7 separate regions of the Homo sapiens genome follow, and regions 1, 2, 3, 5, 6 and 7 are each linked to region 4. Evidence: promoter capture Hi-C in 16 types of primary human blood cells and fetal thymus (Javierre and others, 2016). All regions are on one chromosome and are shown on one strand. Each heading gives the region's core, a stretch centred on a gene start or on the middle of the fragment in contact. The rest is flanking DNA. Distances are from core to core; before and after follow the strand shown.

Region 1 (2,700 bases), core at 171-2,670, 300 kb after region 4:
CCCGAACCAGATGGCTTCACTGGAAAATTCTATGAAACATTCAAAGAATCAATGTCAATTTTTTTCAAACTCTTCTTGAAAATAAGGAGAAGGGAAGATTTCCAAACTCATTTTATGAGACCAGCATTACCCTGATGCCAAAGTCAGACAAAGATACCACAAGAAAGAAAATTATAGAGCAATATTTCTGATGGATATTAATGCAGAAACTTCAGCAAAATACTAGCAAACTCATCACCTCAATTGATGAATAAAAAGCATTTAACAAAATTAAAAATTATTTCATGATAAAAAATAACCATCAAACTAGGAATAGAAGAAAATTACATCAACATAATAAAGATCATATATGAAAAGCCCACAGCTAACATCATATGCAATGGTGAAAAACATAGCTTTTCCTCTAAGATTAGGAACAAGGCAAGGATGCCCACTTTCACCACTTCTATTTAGCACAGTACTGGAAGTTCTAGCCAGAGCAATTAGACAGAAAAAAGAAATAAAAGACACAGAAATTGGAAAGAAAGAAGTAAATTATCTCTGTTCATAGATGACACGATCTTATATGCAGAAAATCCTAAAGATTCCACACAAAAATACTGTTAGAATTAAAAATAAAAAAATTCAGCAAAGTTGCAGGATACGAAATCAACACTCAATAATCAATTGTGTTTCTATACACTAAAAACGAGCAATTAAAAAAATAAATTTAAAAAGAAATTAGGAAATAAGCACTTCAAAAATGAAATTAGTAAACAGTGTGGACATTCCTCAAAAAATTACAAATAAAACTATCACACGACTAGCAATGCCACCTCTAGGGCACACATCCAAAATTTGATGCAATCAGGTGCAGCAAAATCTCACAAATCACCACTAAAGGACGTACTCATGCAACCAAATACCACCTGTACCCCAACAACTTATGAAAAAACTAAATAAATAAATAAATAAATTTTTTAAAAATCGATGCAATCCCATTTACAACAGCATCAAAAAGAAATAAAGTTAACAAGGAGACAAAAAGGATGTGAGGGTGATCTCACTGCAACATCTGTCACCCCATTGATTGCCAGCGTTGATTTGGCTGATCCAGCTGGATAGGCAGGTGTCTCTTTTCTCCCTCACTGCTCCATGTGCATCTCTCTTGAAGCTGCGCACTGGTCGAAGGGGACGACCATCACCCATAGAGAAGTACTGGTCTTCAGTCAAGGGTATACAAGAAGCTGCATTCTCCTGTTAGAACCTCCAAACAAGCTCTCAAGGTCCATTTGTAGGAGAATGTAGGGTAGTCAAGCTTCCAAGACTCCAGACACTTCCAAATGAGGTGCTGCATATAGCAGTCTGCCTTTCTTTTGAAAAAACAAAAAAACACAAGGAGACAAAAGACTTGCACAATGAAAACTATAAAACGATGCTAAAATAAATAAAAGAAGACATAAATAAATGGAAAGACATCCTATGTTCATGAATTGGAAGACTTCATTTTGTGAAAATGTCTGTACTGCCCAAAGTAATCTACAGATTCAATCCAATCCCTATTGAAAGCTTAATCACATTTTTTGCAGAAATAAAAGGAATATCCCAAAATTTCTATGGAATCTCAAAGGACCCCAAATAGCCAAAATAATCTTGAGAAAGAAGAACAAAGCTGAAGGCTTCACACTTCCTCACTTCAAAGCATATTACAAAGCTACAGTAATCAAATATTTACATAATATTTTAAGTGTATATTATCATAATAACATAATCAAATATTTACATAAAGCCAAACATATAGACCAATGGAACAGAAAAGAAAGCCCAAAAATAAATCCATAGGTCAAATCATAGCAAGGGTGCCAAGACAACACAACAGAGAAAGCATATTGTCTTCAACAAATAGTAGTTAAAAAATACTTAGTTAGCCAGGCTAACTAAGAAAAAAAAAAATGGAGTGAACACAAGTCACTAATAACAGAAATGAAAGAAAGACATTACTAAAAATCCTATGAACATTAAAATAATAATAAAAGAGTACTATTAATGACTCTATGTCCACAAATTTGATAACCTAATTGAAGTGGATCAATTCGTAGAAAGACACAATCTGTCAAAACTTACACAAGAAGAAATAGACCATTGGAATAGGCGTTTATCTATTAAAGAAATTAAATCAATAATTTATAACCTTCCAAAACAGAAAGAACCAGGCCTAGATGGGTTCACTGGTGAATTCTAGCAAGGATTTAGGAAGAAATACCAATTCTCTACAATCTCTTTCAGAAGACAGAAGCAGAGGGAATACTTCCTAGTTCATTTTATGAGGTCAGTGTTACCTTAATGCAAAAACCAAAGATATAAGAAAATAAAACTACAGACCAATATCTGTTATGAACATAGATGCAAAATTCCTCAACAAAATATTAAGAAATCAAACCTAACAATGTATGAAAAGAATTATACACCACAACCAAGTGAGATTTATTGTAAGTATGCAAACATTGTTTGGCAGTAGAAAACCAATTAATGCAATACATCATATCAACAGGCTAAAGAAGAAAAAACACACAATAGATGTAGAAAAAGCATTTGACAAAACCCAACACCCATTCATGATTTTTTGAAATCTCTCAGTGAATTAGGAATAGAACTTCCTCAAAAACTCTACAGCTAACATACTTAATGGTGAGAAAATGTCAGTTTTCTCACTAAGATCAG
Region 2 (2,700 bases), core at 153-2,652, 430 kb before region 4:
TGGCTTTTACAGCATTCCCATGTTCTTGGGCTGGTTCTTTCTCATCTCTGTGGGCTGATGTTCCTTTAATCTTTGAGGTTGCTGTCTTCTGGATGGAACTTTTTGCTTTTATATATATTTTTTATGCACATGAGAGTTTGACTGTGTTATAAATTGGGTTTAGTCAATTGGCTTTATTTCTGATCCTTTCAGGTGGCCAAGGCTTAGCTCAGCACTCCTCGGCTGTATGCTCTAATCTTGGCAGCTGGGATCAGGCCTGTGACTTTGTTTTCTGGGCCCTTGAGTTTAGTATGTGCTGCACTGGAGGGGCCAAGGTGTTCCCAGCACACTAGCAACAACACTCCAACAGGGGCTGCCAGCAAAATCTCTAGTGAGGTGGCGGTGGGACCCTGTGCATGTGTGTGCCAGCAGTGTGCTGGAGATGGGTCTGTGAATGGATGCATGCTAGCAGGGTGGCAGAGAGAACCCACATGTATGCATTCCAGTGGGGCAGTGTGGGGAGACTGTGAGGGAGTGCACACTGGTGGAGGTCCATCTGCAAAGTGCTCTGATGGGTAGGTGGGGTCTGCTGGCAAAAGAGCTCTGGTGGCGGCCACTGGCAAGCTGAGGCTGTACTGCATGGGTGCAGCCAAGCAGGGACTCTGCGAGAGGCTGGCAGACAGGCAAGTGCTCAGATAAGACTATTCCTGTCTCACAGGTAAGACAGCTCTGCTCTGTCCAAGCCTGGTAGCTAACAAAGTCTAAAGCCCCTTAGAGTATGGTGAGCTTTGGGGGTTGAACACACATGGCTGTGCTCCACTGCAGCTGTTCCCACACCAAACCTTCTGGGCTCTGCACAGGCTGAAGTTATTTATCTGTCAATTCTCCAGGCAGTTCTCCTTGCTAGCTCAGGTGTCTGTGGGGGTCATGGGATCTCCTGTTGCTAGGATTCTGGAGGTTCATGGTGAGAGTGCACCATTACATGCCTGTTTTACTCAGCCCTTCCCTAGAAGCTGCTATGGGCCAGGAATGAGTCCTGGTGTTCAGTGACCCTATGCAGGGTCCCAAGCTTCCTTCCCCTTCAGTCTGGGGACTGCATCTTCTCTCTGTCCATTCTAAATATCTTTTTTTTTCTTTTTTTGTCTCAGGAAAGCTTGTGCAAAGAAATAAAAATGTGGGATAAAATCTTAAGTATGAGAAAATGTTAGTTGAGTAAAGAAAGCAGATTTCTGGGTAGGGAAAGAATCATGAAAGAAGGTTCTAAAGTTGAAAAATGTTATAGTTTATTGGAAGAACTGATTGAAGAGTAATGTGGACAGCGCACTGAGAGTAAGAGAAATAATGGTGCAAAGGGAAGGCTGAGAGGCAGATTAGGGTCTAAAACACATTTAAAATGGCCAATAACAATGATGGTGAACATTTACAGAGTATTTGATGGTGCACACTATTCCAGTTCCTGCATTAAACACAAAAGTTTAAATAGTATATCACAGATTTAGCCTGTCCACCTGTTAAGATCTGGGTATTAAATTTCATTGCTAGTAAGACCCAGTGTCTGCTTTTCCAGAACTAAGATCCCTGCAGCTTTCAAATGTCAGCACTTCTTTCCCTTGCAACTGTGTTAAACCAGAGCACAAGGAGGGACCTCCTGCCTTAATCTTGCTTTTCTATTTTTAAACACATGTCTTCTTTCAAAGCTTATCTATTTTATATTCTGAATACATGCATTAGCCAAGAAGAATTCAAAACATTTTAATTACTATTTAAAGAAGTAGAGATGTTGATACAGATTTTAAATTATACATGCAAGTATAATTTTTTTTTATTTTATTCTGTCATGTTCTCTATCCTGAGGAAATTTTTTCCTGATTGCAAGTCACTGTTTGTTCTGGTTTCCCTGCTTAGCTCAGGAGTGATGGCCCGTCTTCACTCTTACACAGAAATTTTCTCAGTTGCTTTTTCCAAGGGGTGGGAACCTATGTTGTATATAGTCTTAGGAACTTTCACACATATGTGTATATAAATGTACAGTAGGCAATACTAGTGACAACAGTAGCTCTCCTGGGAAAAACCCTACAGAAGAAAATGGCCCTCATTTTTCCTATAATATCACTACCAGTAAGTTATTGTGATAAACTTTATCTTATTTAAAAGCATACCTCCCCAAGTGTTAAAACACAAAATATATCAATCATTCTCATTTAAATCTAAGGATCTTTAAGTAATTTTGTGTGTGCTGAGAGGCATGAGATAAAGATTTCTGAGAATAAGGCTCAGCCTCCAGAGGGTGAATTTGTGCTGCACAAAACCATAAAACACCCTGGAGAAAGGAAAATCAGGATGTGGAGAAATGGGTCCAGCACTTGGCAGAGGGCCATTCCTGAACACCACCACCAATGGCATCGTTCAGCGTGTACTTCCACATGCATTCTCACATCTAAAGCCTCCTCAGTTCTACCAGGGAGGTACTACCACTGCTACAGCAAGGAAATCAAGAATCAGAGATTAAACTGCTTTTCAAAGCCACTTTAACTTTGGTGGTTTGGTGAGACCGCAGAAATTTTCACTTCCAAACCTGTGTTTTTTGTAATACCCCAAAATTTAAGGAATCTAGGTCCTGGCTAAGGGTTGCCATAAGGACTAGAACTTGAGTACTGGTTCACCTGTGCTTCCTTGGTCCCCAGAGGTGATCTGCAGCATGTGCTGCGGAATCAGTATAGT
Region 3 (2,700 bases), core at 91-2,590, 380 kb before region 4:
AAAATTTTGTTAAAAACAAAGACTAAACAAGGAGGCATATAAAAGTTCACCAACAGCAAATGCTAAGGGAAGGTAAATTCACTTAACTCAAGGTTTTGACTTACATTTACCTGTAATGTTTTTGCCATAACCAATAATAAGCTACTGTTGAGAGAAAGTATACTTTCAGAGTTCAGATAAAGAATGCAAGGTAGTGAAATTGCTTATATTTAATAATTTCAAATAATGCTAACAGAAAACAGCTGTAATAGACTGATTTATAAGATAATATATTAATATGTTTTTATAAGACTTTTCTTTCAGTGTATCATGATTTTTATGCAGCCATTTTACTTTAGCACTTAGATTATTCCTTTGCTCAAACAAATCTATTCCATTATTGTACTTTTTGAATTATACATATATCTTTTTGTTCTCTTTATATAATACACAAATTGTCATGAGGATTGAAAATTTTAATTTGTTTTTCCACGGCATTGTTTGGCAATAAGTTAAAATAGGAAAATAAAAAAAGCATGAGTAAATTAGACTCTGATGACTGATTGAATGTGAGGATGGGTTTTGGAATGAAAGAAATTGTTATGATCACTCCAAGCTTATCACATTGACTAATTCTATGTATTTGTTTTCTGGTGACAGGAGCTGATGATCAGTTATGCCGAGAAAAAGCTATGTCTGTGGTGACAAGTGGGAGTATTTCAGAAGCTTCATGGGCTCATATGGAAGTTAATCTTAGGTGGGTAGCAGAGAAGGTGGTATGTGAGATAATGAAGAAAATTGAGAATACGTCAGTAAGAAAAAAATCTAGCAGAGAGAATGAGTTGAAGATGTTGGAAATAAATCTTTATGTCCTTAGAGATTATCCAAAGAAGAAACTGTGGTCTGTCACATGACCTCTCCCTTTGTTAATTCTGTGATGGCTTTTACAATATGTCAATTTGGCTAGGTTATTTTCTCTAGTTATTCAATCAAACACTAACTTGGGTGTTACTGTAAAGGTATTTTGCAAATCTAATTCAGCTCCCTAATCAGGTAACTTTAAGTAAGGTATATTATCCTGGATAATATGAGTAGGCCTGACTGAAGCAACTGGAAGGCCATAAAAGCCTTACTGAGACTTCTCCAAGGTACAAAGGAATTCCACCTGTGGATAATAGCTTTGGACCTTGTTCATAGACTTACATCTAGTTTAAAATCTTACTTTCTTGACTGTCTGTGGACAACAGCTTCAGCTTGTGCCCATAAATTCCAGCCTGCCCATAATCTTGCCTCCCAGACTGCCTGCCCTATGGAATTTTACTTTCTTAGCCAGGTTCCACAATTGCATAAGCCGATTCCTTATATTTAAATGTATTGTTTCACATGTATGTTAATAATATCATATAGTACTGCTTCTCTGGTAGAACCTGACTTATTTATCTTCAAGTTCTTTGATCTCCTATCCTACTACCTTATGCTCATGATGAAACCAAAACTCTAATTGAATCCAACATTCAATCAACTTTATGACACATATATTTAGAGTCATAAAAGATATCCCATTATAAGGCTGCATAACATGTTAGAGATAATAAATAAGAAAGAGATATAGATATTTGATACCTGCATGTTCTTCACAAACTGAACCCAACCATTAGACTTCTCTTTATCATGAAGAACTTAACGTCATCTAAAATCAGAAATGTGGAATATTTCTATAGGTGATTATATGGATTTTAAAAGTTAAGAATAAAAACCAAGACAAAATAAAAACACTTAGGATACACTAAATTATCTTTCTAACAAACTACTCAGTCTTCCTAGACAGTGGAACCTCTACTTTGTTTACTGTTTCCTTTCACTTTCTTATCAGACAATATTTTGGACTCTGAGAAACACCTTATTTAATAGTTAGAATTCTGTAACTACTATTTAGAAGGTAACATAAAATACAAATAATATATGTAGTGCATCTACATTTTTTCCTGATGAATGGAAAGCTTAATCAGTCTTAATCAAAATACTACAATTATTCATGCTAGTGTATGAATAATAATGGGATTTGCATTTTAAAGCCAAATGAATGAATCTTTAAAGTGAAAATTTCAGAAATCAGCAATTAAGTCAATTCAAGAGTGGTTAAAAAATGTGCCAAAATTCTGGGGACAGTACAATGGCTCTGCATCCAGGATATAATTATAAATGTGGTGACAGTGAAGGCACATACACAATATTCAAAGCTCCTGGCAGCTTCTCTGTTGACAACCCTACTCCCTCTTTTTCTATCCTTATTCGTGGTAAATGGTCCTTTTTTATCAGAACCAGGTAGGCTTAACAATGAGATGCAGCTCTCCCAGGATCCTAACGAAAGTGCATTCAAGTGATCCTACCTTGCTCCTCAATTTTCTACTTTAGTTTCTGAAATTGACTCAGTCTTTCATTGTGGTGCTTTATCCTTAATGCCATTGGCCATACCCTTTTTCCTAAAACTCCAAATAACTTGGAAACCCAGAAATTAAAAAAATATTATCCTGAATTACTTATCATGACATAATGCACTTAAAGTAAAATCTAGGTTTATTTAAAAAAACAAAGAAGAAGAAGAAGAAGAAAACTGAAGGTATCACACGACCAGACTTCAAAATATGCTACAAAGCTACATAACCAAAATAAGTTGGTAATGGCACAAAACCAAACACATAGATCAATGGAACAGAATGG
Region 4 (2,700 bases), core at 56-2,555:
TAAGAGCAAGTTTATTCTAAAAGACATGAGCTAGGGCATGGATGCAGGACCAAACACATAATTTGCAGGGTCAAGTACAAAATGAAAATGTGATCTCTTGTTAAATATTTTTACCGAATTTCAAGATGGCAGCATCAGCGCGGGGCCCTGTGTGACTGCACAGGTTGCACATCCATGAAGCTGTTCTTGCAAACATCTACAGCTAATTTTAAAAATCTGAACAGAAGTTTGCAATTTTGTTTTAAAAAATTGAGGGTATTTTGTATTAATGGGGGAAAAGAGGCTTTTAAATATCTAGGTGTGTTTCTTTTCCCTGCACACTGAGGTTGTCTTCAAAAGAAACTGGACCCTCTGTATCTTTATTCAGTGGGGCTATTCCTATGTTTCCAAAAGATTTAGTAAGGCAGGCTGGTTTGCCCCTCTGTGAACAGTCCTCAACTCTTGCTATACTGCAACATCCAATTGCTCTTCAGCCAAGACCTGGCCTAGATTTGAGGCTCCACAGTCGGAAATGCATGGATTTTGAAGCCCAAATGTGTTCGAATTCCAGTTTCACCAATTATAGTTTAGTGACTTAAAGCAAATTACTCAGTCTTCCTACAGCCTCAACTTCCTCATCTATAAAATGGAAGTGATAATCCCTAGACGCATAGAGTAGCTGGGAGGATTAAATAAGGTAAAAAGAAAGGGTTTAGTACAATAAGTGCACAACAAACGAGGAACAGGTGTCCATATACACACTGCATTATCTCTCTGCTTTAGATCAAAGCTGAATGGAGAAAACGCAGTGCCCGTGAGTCAGGGGACCCCCACTCCGACCCCTGCTCTCTGTCACTGAACCCTATAAATAGCTTAGCTAAGTCACTGTCTCAGTCACTATTCGTTGGGGTGAGGAATGAGGGAGTTGTTGCAAGTGGCTCTTTCTGGCTATATCATTCACAGATTTTCTATTCTTTGGGGTTTGGGTCTGAATTTTCAGCATCCTCTCTGAAGAATCACCCCCACCCAGTGCCGGCGTGCGCCCAGCCTTCCCCCAGCCCTTTCCAGGGCGCTGCCCCCTGCCTGCCCTCACTACTCCAGGCGCTGGCCGCGCAGCCCCGCCCTGGAGCTGCCTCCCCGCCTCCTTCCTCCTCCTGCGGGCGAGCAGAAGCCCGCTCGCCCGCTGCCGAGTGGCAGTCACGACTGTGAGGTCGCCGGCGAGGTGGCCGCGGGCGCGGCGGGGCGGGGCAGGGCGCACTCTCCTCCACGCCCGCGGAAGTGCCGGGGAGGTGGGCAGGGCGGGGAGGGAGAGGGAGCGAGGCTGGAGGAGGGCACGTCGGCGCCTCGGCGAGGATGGGAGTCCCCAGGACCCGGAGCTGAGCAGCCTGGCGCGCGGCGGGCAGGGCGCGCAGGACAGAAGCCTCGCTGTTCCTCCGGGAGCCCAACACCGTTCCCGCGCGGCCACGATGATCCCTCCGAGCAGCCCCCGCGAGGACGGCGTGGACGGGCTGCCCAAGGAGGCGGTGGGCGCCGAGCAACCGCCCTCTCCTGCATCCACCAGCAGCCAGGAATCCAAGGTACCGAGCACGCTTGCCCCCAAGAGAACACAAACTCACTCTCCTCTCCTGTCGGTCCAGCTTTGTCTCTCCTCCTATCTAGCACGGGCGTGGGGGTCTGAGACTTGCTAGTTAGCCCAGGGCTGTAGGACTTGAACGTCCGGTAGGACCCGCTGCTCACGATGCTGGACCACGTCCCTGTGGACCCAGCCTTCCCGCCCACACATTCACACACGCAATTCATGGTGGCTCCGGGTTCAGAGATCGATTTCTTGCGGGGTGGTAGCTTGGTTTTTTTTGTGCTTTGAACCTGCTTGTGTCCAAAGCACGTGTAGGTAGGTATTAGGTGGCTTCTGAAGGCTGAGGGATGGAGACAGCCGAGGGATACTCTTCCAGAAAAGCTTGAGTACTGGGCCAGAAAAGCATGTATGTATCCCAAGGGTCTCAGAGACCTTTTGCTTAACAGGGATCACCCCTACCTTCAGATACTACTCACTAAAAAAGAAAAAGAAAAAGAAAGGGTTTGCCTGCGTTTGTCTGAAAGTTGATGTTCCTCTTGTGAAAGTTAATACTCTAAGAACCTATACTTGCTTTTATGAAAGTTACACTAACACGTATACAAAAAACCAAGCCCGCAGCAGTTCTCCTGTCACTGTTACACTTCCTCTGAAACTCCCGTGGGTGCCAGGCACATGTTTGAAAATCTTGGAAGAGGATAGAGTAAAATGTGGCTGCTAGCAGTGCAATGCCAAATGGCAACTCAGCTGGTGGTGGAAATCCTAAGATGGAGTTTGTAGTTATGTGGATTCTTTTAAGTGTAGAGCTCCTGGCTCTTTATTCTGATTTCATTGTGCGATCCCCAGGCATTTGGGGAATGTGAGGCAGTCCGTGTATACCAGCAAAGGAAAGGGGTTGCCAGTTTATAGGATAGGGACAGGCCAGATGGGGCAAGGAAGACTGCGATCCTGTCTCTCTTCACATGCATCCCTGGAAGCCATTGATATGATCAGGAGGATGAAAATCACAGCCTGAGTGGCTCTGGGGATTTGGTGTGATACTGGGCACTGTACATTTCCCAGCCCCCTGAAGTTAACCATCAATGATGGTAATCTAAGCCCGAAAGCTTTACATCTTATTTATTTTTATTTTTTTCCTGTTACTTACT
Region 5 (2,700 bases), core at 133-2,632, 400 kb before region 4:
TCCCCCAAAATCTTAACTCATTCCAGTGTTAACCCAAAAGTCCAAGTCTAAAGTCTCATCCAAAATAAGCAAGTCACTTCTGCCTATGAGCTTGTAAAATCAAAAGCAAGTTAGTTACTTCGTAGATTAAATGGGGTACAGGCATTGGGTAAATATATCCATTCCAAATGGGATAAATTGGTCAAAACAAAAGGGCTATTGGCCCCATGGAAGTTCAAAATCCAAAAGGGCAGCCATTAAACCTTAAAGTTCCAAAATGATCTCCTTTGACTCCTTGTCTTACATCCAGGTCATGCTGATGCAAGAGGTAGGCTCCCATGGCCTTGGATAGCTTTGTCCCTGTGGCTTTGCAGGGTACAGCCCCCCTCCCAGCTGCTTTCATGAGCTGGTGTTGAGTGTCTGTGGGTTTTCCACATGCATGGTGCAAGTTGGTGGATCTACCATTCTGGGGTCTGGAGGACAGTGGTACTCTTTGCACAGCTCCACTAGGCAGTGCCCCAGTGGGGACTCTGTGTCGGGGTTCACACCCCACATTTCCCTTCTGCACTGTCCTAGCAGAGGTTCTCCATGAGGGCTTTGCCCCTGCAGCTAACTTCTGCGTGGACATCCAGGCATTTCCATACAACCTCTGAAATCTAGGGAGAGGTTCCCAAAACTCAATTCTTGTCTTCTATGCACCTGCAGGACCAACACCACATGGAAGCTGCCAAAGATTGGGGCTTGCACCCTCTGAAGCAGTGGCCTGAGCTGTAACTTTGCCCTTTTTGCCACAGGTGGAGCAGCTGGGACACAGAGCATCAAGTCTGGAGGCTGCACACAACAGAGGGGGCCCTGGCCCTGGCCCTGGCCCATAAAACTATTTTTCCCTCCTAGGCCTCAGGGTCTATGATGGGAGGGGCTTCTGTGAAGGCCTCTGACATGCCCTGGAGACATTTTCTCCATTGTCTTGGCTATTAACATTCAGCTCCTCATTTCTTATGCAAATTTATGCAGCCAGCTTAAATTTTTTCCCAGAAAATGGGTTTTTGTTTCTACTGCATCATCAGGCTGCAAATTTTCCAAACTTTTATGCTCTGTCACCTCTTGAATGCTTTGCTGCCTTAGAAATTTTTTCCACCAGATACCCTAAATTGTCTCTCTCAGGTTCAAAGTTCCACAGATCTCTAAGGCAGGGGCAAAAAGCCACCAGTCTTTTTGCTAAAGCACAGTAAGGGTGACCTTACTCCAGTTCCCACAAGTTTCTCATCTCCACCTAAGACCACCTCAGCCTGGATTTCATTGTCCATATCACTATCAGAATTTTGGTCAAAGCCATGAAACAAGTCTCTAGGAGGTTCCAATCTTTCCCACATCTTTCTGTCTGCTTCGGAGTCCTCCAAACTGTTCCAACCTCTGCCCATTACCCAGTTTCAGAGTCGCTTCCACATTCTCAGGTATCTTATAGCAATGCCCCACTCTCAGTACAAATTTACTGTATTAGTCTGTTCTCATGCTGCTGTGAAGTAACACCTGAGACAGGGTGATTTGTAAAGGAAAGAGGTTTAATTGATTCACAGTTCTGCATTGCTGGGGAGGCCTCTGGAAACTTACAATCATGGCAGAAAGCAAAGGAGAAGCAGGAACTTTCTTCATAGGGCAGCAGGATGGATTGAGCACTAGCAGGGGAAATGCCAGATGCTTGTAAAACCATCCAATCTCATGAGACTCACTTACCATCACAAGAATGGCATGGAGGAAACTGCCCTATGATCCAGTTACCTCCACCTGGTCCCATCCTTGACATGTTAACATTATGGGAATTACAATTCAGGTGCAGTTTGGGTGGGGACACAGAGCTGAACCATATCAAGAACTATAAGGATAATAAAAAATATTAAAAGTATTTGGATAGGAGAAAATAGTTATTGACAAAGGAACAAAAGGCACTATGGTCTCAGACTTACGAGTAACATTACAGAAAGCTAGACAATGCCATTTAAAGTTCTAGTAGAGCATATTTTTTTCCTAAAACACATTCTCAATGACATATGAGGATGGATTAAAGATATTTTATTTGGACATTGCTTGAGGATATGCACAAGTAAAATATAAAATAAAAACCAGAAAGAGATGGGATTTAGGATTGGGACTAATCAGAAAAGAAATTAAATCCAGAATTCAACAATGCAAGAAGCAAAAAAAAAAAAAAAAAAAAAGAAAACTAATATTCAAATAGCAGTCCAGGAGGTCCTGGGGAAGTGATTTCCTAGGACATTAACGAAATCTTCATTTACTGGGTGGAATTTTAAGTAGTTATGTATAAATTGTAGGATAATACAAGAAGCCCCACATACCCATGGCCTGGTTTCAACAATTAACACATAACACATGACCAATCTTTGCTACATTTTAATATCTGTCATGTCAGAAATTTAATATTTAGAATTATGTAAAATAGTATACTATTATATATATATATAGAGAGAGAGAGAGAGAGATAGCTGAATGATAAGCTACAATTTTTAAAAAATGGCTGTCCATTAAAGGGAAGAGGAAAGGCATTGTTTTCATTAAATGCCTTTGCATATCATTTGTTTTTTAAGAAACAATTATTCGTGTACACGATAAAAATGTATATAACAATTAAGATAGAATTAAAGATAAATACAATATAGTTAATGAAAACCAATAAATGTTATTAAATTTCTTTCAATCAGCAAT
Region 6 (2,700 bases), core at 188-2,687, 290 kb before region 4:
CTTTGTTGAATCTAGCAAACCATGGCCCAGAACTCAACTGAATAGAAGGGGCCAGGGTCTCAACTGTAGTTGGAGATGGGATCAATGCAAAAGACACAGGCAAGTTGTGTAAGCAGAATAAGAAAATCAGAGCATGAAGTGAAGGCTAGCAGAAGAGTGGCCAGGCAATCAATGGAGTATCATGGGAATCCAGTTGTAACAGTAGGGTGTTCCTACAACAGAAAATCTACCACAATATGAAGAAGCTATCTGAAAAGACTTAGGCAGACAGCACCCACCTAGAGATGTATTTGAGTACAGTGACACAATCATGGTACCAAGATTTTGGGAAACCAAATTACTCCATCCCAAGCGACAGAAACTGCAAGAGGAACTATGATGCCCTGAAAACAGAAAATTTACACATGATGACTGAGTTTCTAGAGATGGAATGTAAGGTCTTTCGGTGCATTTGCTATAATAGTTTTTAATGGTCTTTCTGTCTGCAGTGTTCTTTTCTTCAAATACAACCTCTTTGTTGCAGAGAGGGATCATTCTCAAATGCAAATTTGATTATCTGAAAGTCCTCAATGGTTCCTCAGGAACTTGTACCCTCTGGATAAAGCTCATACTCTTTAAAATGGTATTTAATAACCTTTAAAAACTAGATTCTGCCTACTTTTCTCATTTTCTATCTTCTGTCCTAAAGCAACATGCTTTTTATTTAACTAACAAATATTTATTAAACACTCACTGTAAACACTGATAGAATCTGAGAATATAAAGATAAATATGGTGTCAGAGTTCTAGAAGCTTACAGCGAGGTGAGCAGAGGGATGCTTTAAATATAACTAAACCACTAGAATTCAATATGATGATTGGTATTGTTGTCAATAGATAATGCTCTAAAGAAAGCATAATTATGGCTCACACAAATAAAAAATGAACACGTGTGAAAGATTCAAACGTTGTATTTATCTCATTAATTAATGAGAGAACCAATAAGATGATACAGCTGATTCAACAGAGAATTCAGAGAGCAGAAACAGATTTTTGAAATGGATTTGCAAATAAATGAAAATAACTCTATCCAATGGTCAATAATTGCATTCCACCAGATGCAATTAGTTTGCATTTCTATGGACACAAATCATTTGCGTGATTATGTTTTGTGCATTTTCTAGAGTTGTAAAATAGTTCAGAGATAATACAAAAGGGCGATAACCTTGATGGATGACCTAGACAGGACACAAAATAATGTGCTCTTGCCCATTTCAAAGCCTTCCACAATTTTCCTGATAAAGCTGAAGCACATAAAAGGATGGTGGTCATAGAGATTATGCGCCTAGAGTTGGAAGATTAATGAGGAAAGCTTCATTTGATGCCTAGATTGTGGTCATGAATGGAATTTTTCCAGGTCATTTTGAGAATAATGAACATGCATTCTGCTGGTGAGAATAAAAAAGAGGTAAGGATGGCTTCAAAGCGGTACAATTAATGGGTCTCAAAGATCTTTCCTTACAAGAACTGTGGGAATAAAGTTCACAAGCTTCCTCAGTCTTTTCAGGATTCTAAATAAACCATTGATGAAGGGATTCCTCCAGAATGGTTGGAGGAAAGAGCAGTCAATGACCCTTTCTTCTTAGGTGGCTCTCAAGTGTGGTCCAGAAACAGCAGTACAGCATCACCTGAGAAACTGCTAAAGGTGCAAATCTGGGGGCCTGAACCCAGAACTACTGAATCAGAAATTCTGAGGGTATGCCCAGAAATCTGTGTTCTAACAAGCCTGCCAGGTGATTCTGATGCTCCTTTGAGTTTGATAACAACTGTCTTAGAGGAGCAGGTACCTGAAAACCTGCAGAAAGATACTACCTTGCAGACCCAAACCTCGGTTACAGGAAGAAAATCTTTCCACATTTATATAACAAGAATAATATATATTCCTGTTTTTATATTATTATATTCTTGTTATATAATTGTGGGAGAAAATGTGTGTACACACGCCAACACACAAAAGAATAAGTTAAAGCTCATTCTTCTGATTTTAGTAAATTATTTATCTGCATATCTATTCTTTCACTGCTTCCTAAACTGTCTGGCCACAGGTACAGTATCTTTTCTGAATTTCCAGGAAGGGTTTATGGTAGAAATAATATGACAAGTATTTGCTGAGTGACTGACCAGATAACTTCACAAGGCAAAAAATCTGGTGGCAAAATGCAGGTTGAAGACCATTGTCAGACGAGTAGGAAGACTAATATAAATACCAGTATAGAATGCCTCGAGTTCTCCAAGTCAAAAGATCAGTTTAGTTTCAAGTAAGAGAATTCCACTTATGTGGGTAGGAGCAAGGATACTGGAGACTGGTTCCCCCTGCAAAGGACAGTGTGAAACAATAACATGTATGTTTTCAGTGTATAACACAATATTAGTTAATAATACCAACTAAGTATTAACTAATTATTAGTTATTAACTAATATTGTATTGTACACTGAAAATTTGCTAGGAAGGTAGGATTTAGGTGATCTTACCACATACACAAATAGAAAAGGTAACTATGTAAGGTGATGGGTATGTTAATTTGCTTCACTATAAGTAATCATTTCACTATATATATCAAAATAGTAAGTTGTAAAGCTTAAATATACACAATAAAATTTTTAATTGAAATTGCATTAAAATTAAATGTTATTACAAAGTAGAGCCTGTATCAGAATAAA
Region 7 (2,700 bases), core at 53-2,552, 330 kb after region 4:
GATTCTCTGAGAAAATGTCAAGGACCTGGCATATACTGGAAGCTTGCCTGGCTTGAAACAGGACAGAAGTGGCAGGGAGTTCATACACCAAGAGAAACTCTCAAAGAACAAAGGACAGTAGTTGGTGGATACAACTCCAGTTTTCTTGCCCAGTATGAGACAGTTCTGAAGTGTGTTCAAGAGCGCTCTCAGTGGACGTGAGCTCCAGTTGCCCACAGCGGCCCTCACACGTGAATGCACTCTTTCTTGGCCTTCCTCTCTTCCTGGACTCATTTCCCCATTTCTTCTCCACACTTCTTGGTTTTGCCTCCCAAATAAACTATCCACCTATGTCCTTGTCTCAGGGTCTGCTTGGGAGAACCCCGTGTCCCCAGATTTCTCCAGGTAGGCTCAGCTTCCTCCCACTCTGGCCAGCAGCATCCAGCACCACCTGGGTGAGCTGCTCTCCACTCCTCAGCACAGCTATAGAGCTGGACCCTCGTTACTCACACAGGCCCAGCCAGTCTTGCTCACACACTGGAACTCATTCTAATCCCTCTTTTGAATAAAGAAAACCAGAATTATTTCTGCAAACCCTCTGAGTTTGCTGGTACCCTGGATTACATGGCTAAAAGCTTCCTCAAAGCCAGCAGGGTGCACTCACTCAGAGAGCCCTGGACCCAGAGCCGATCTGTGCCCTGGTCCTCTGGGATCAGCCTCAGTCTGGGCAGCCAAGCATTAGGCAGGTCCATTCCAGTCAAGAGGGGCTAGATGGTCCCCAAGCTCAGTGGCCTCCTGCTCATTCTCACTGGCTATGAGAAAGTCACAGGCTGGTTTCCCTGGGAAGCAGACACTGAAAGAGAGGCATGTGTGCAGGAAGTTTACTGGGGACTGTTCTGTGTCAGCACTTGCTGGGGAAGAAGGTATGAATAGCGTGGGACTGAGCAGAAGAAGGAGCTAACTGTGGTCTAGTTGAAACCAAGGCCATGTCTGATCCCACATGGAGCTACAGCATGGCCCTGTGAGCTGTCCTGAGTTGAAGCAAGGGGACTGGACCTTTTTAACCCAGATCAACCTGTTATCGGATGTGAGCTTCCCTGGAGAAAGATATGACTGAGTGAGGAGACTCAATTCAGCCCAGGGCAGGATCAGAATAGTGGGTGCTTCAGGGATCAATAAGGCAACCAGAGCCTCCACATCAGTGTCATGAGTTTTCAGGGGAAGAGAGAATCAGAAACTCCCGTGCCACCTGGAGCAGGTAAGAAACACAAAGCTGTTGCCTTATGATTGCCCAACTCAAGAGGCACTGGAGCCAAGCCCTAGAAAGAACACAAGTCACTTGACAGTCACCCCTGGGGCTTCTCCACTGGAAGTGTCCCCCTTGGAAGGACCAACCATGACTCCTAAGCCACCTCCACATTCACCATCAACTCCCAACAAATCTGTAGGTGATTGGGTTGCATGTGATGCCCCTGGCCCCACAGTACTGGCCACTGGTTTCAAACACAGCCTTCCAGGTCTCATGAAGTGGAAGGACTGGGGCTGGAGTTAAAGGAGCCTCTAGAAAAAGTACCTCTGTTGCAGAAAGGAGTCTTTTTAGTATTGCTTATCCATGGGTATTTGGGATCTGGCCTTGCAGGATCAGACACAGAGCAGAGGCCGGGAACGGAAGGGATGGTGCCACTCTGCACTGCAGGGCTTATCTGGCAGCTGGCATTTTTTGTAAACCAAGTGATGACAGGCAAGTCAGGTTATTTCTCTGAGCCTCAGTCTCCCCATCTGTAAAGCAGGGCTGAGAATCATAGCCAGTGGTGCCATTGTTCTGGGTGGAAATGAGATACACACTGGAATTCACTCCAAGAGCTATATATTAAGTGCTACACAATTGTCAAAGTTTTGAACACAGCTTTGTTGTAATAACAACACAGCTTCTGTGTTATTTCTCAATTATGTTCAAATATTATCATTTGAGTAATAAAAAGCAAAACCATGTGGTAAACCATGAGAGAAAAGAAGCTTTCATCACTCTTTATGGGAGGATAAATTAAAAAATCAAGTTGGCAATATCTGATCAAGTTGGAGATTTTCTATCTAAGAAAAGAAATTCTCCTACACATGTGCAAAGGATGCATATAGGATGGATGGTAAATACAGCATGTTTGTAAGAATAAATAATTACTGAGAAACAGCCTAAACGTCCAATGGAAGAGAAACTAAGAAAGTTTAGTGGACAGATCCAAGCAACACTGAGGAAGTAAATCAATGGGGAGGGACTGATTCAGGAGTCAGAGAGTGAGGTATCAAGGGTGATGCCTGTGTTTTGAACTTGCTGAACAACACCATTCCCTGAGATAGGGAGAAATAGAGGAAGGACAGGTTTGGAGGTGATAATTGTGCATTCTGCTGTAGAGGAACCTCTGATGGCTGTGCAGGGATATGTTCTGTAGGCAGTTGGAAAGGTGGGCCTAGAACTTAGAGAAGCCTTGGATGGAAACATAACTGGGGGCAGGGAAGGAGAAGCTCATCTGCAAATAGACAGTGAGTGTAAATGAAGTTGCCAGGTGAAATAGAGTGAAAATAGAGTCTAGGACTGAACTTTGAGGACCTGCAACTATATTTTTAACAACTTTATTGAGGTATAATTGACACACAATAAACTGCACATAACAAAAGTGTACAATTTGGTAAGTTTTGACATATATACCCCCATAAATCCATTAT

The links. The method cuts DNA at HindIII sites, captures the fragments that hold promoters and counts their contacts. A CHiCAGO score of 5 or more calls a contact.
Region 1: a contact is called between a fragment that was not itself captured here and the fragment with the promoter of STAC in region 4, in 1 of 17 cell types (megakaryocytes). The highest score is 5.0, in megakaryocytes.
Region 2: a fragment that was not itself captured here is called in contact with the fragment with the promoter of STAC in region 4 in 1 of 17 cell types (megakaryocytes); the score reaches 6.1 in megakaryocytes.
Region 3: a contact is called between a fragment that was not itself captured here and the fragment with the promoter of STAC in region 4, in 1 of 17 cell types (megakaryocytes). The highest score is 10.2, in megakaryocytes.
Region 5: a fragment that was not itself captured here is called in contact with the fragment with the promoter of STAC in region 4 in 1 of 17 cell types (megakaryocytes); the score reaches 10.2 in megakaryocytes.
Region 6: a fragment that was not itself captured here is called in contact with the fragment with the promoter of STAC in region 4 in 1 of 17 cell types (megakaryocytes); the score reaches 5.3 in megakaryocytes.
Region 7: a contact is called between a fragment that was not itself captured here and the fragment with the promoter of STAC in region 4, in 2 of 17 cell types (megakaryocytes and M0 macrophages). The highest score is 5.8, in megakaryocytes.

The regions. Positions count from the first base shown.
Region 1 is chr3:36,684,014-36,686,713 of GRCh38, forward strand. It overlaps the pseudogene RN7SKP227. Among named protein-coding and RNA genes, the nearest start is that of DCLK3, 79 kb to the right of the region's middle. The HindIII fragment of the contact is 251 bases long and covers 1,296-1,546 here.
Region 2 is chr3:35,952,979-35,955,678 of GRCh38, forward strand. No RefSeq gene overlaps it. Among named protein-coding and RNA genes, the nearest start is that of MIR128-2, 210 kb to the left of the region's middle. The HindIII fragment of the contact is 544 bases long and covers 1,131-1,674 here.
Region 3 is chr3:36,003,461-36,006,160 of GRCh38, forward strand. No RefSeq gene overlaps it. Among named protein-coding and RNA genes, the nearest start is that of MIR128-2, 260 kb to the left of the region's middle. The HindIII fragment of the contact is 1,274 bases long and covers 704-1,977 here.
Region 4 is chr3:36,379,199-36,381,898 of GRCh38, forward strand. It overlaps STAC (SH3 and cysteine rich domain), which reads left to right and starts at 1,306. Exons shown (of 11, transcript NM_003149.3): 1 at 1,306-1,556. The coding sequence starts at 1,446. The region is part of intron 2 of LOC124906227 (a long non-coding RNA gene); the gene reads right to left. The HindIII fragment of the contact is 3,341 bases long and covers 1-1,934 here.
Region 5 is chr3:35,974,204-35,976,903 of GRCh38, forward strand. No RefSeq gene overlaps it. Among named protein-coding and RNA genes, the nearest start is that of MIR128-2, 230 kb to the left of the region's middle. The HindIII fragment of the contact is 9,312 bases long and covers 1-2,700 here.
Region 6 is chr3:36,092,622-36,095,321 of GRCh38, forward strand. No RefSeq gene overlaps it. Among named protein-coding and RNA genes, the nearest start is that of STAC, 290 kb to the right of the region's middle. The HindIII fragment of the contact is 177 bases long and covers 1,350-1,526 here.
Region 7 is chr3:36,709,830-36,712,529 of GRCh38, forward strand. It overlaps DCLK3 (doublecortin like kinase 3), which reads right to left. Exons shown (of 5, transcript NM_001394672.2): 5 at 2,592-2,700. Among named protein-coding and RNA genes, the nearest start is that of DCLK3, 53 kb to the right of the region's middle. The HindIII fragment of the contact is 1,381 bases long and covers 613-1,993 here.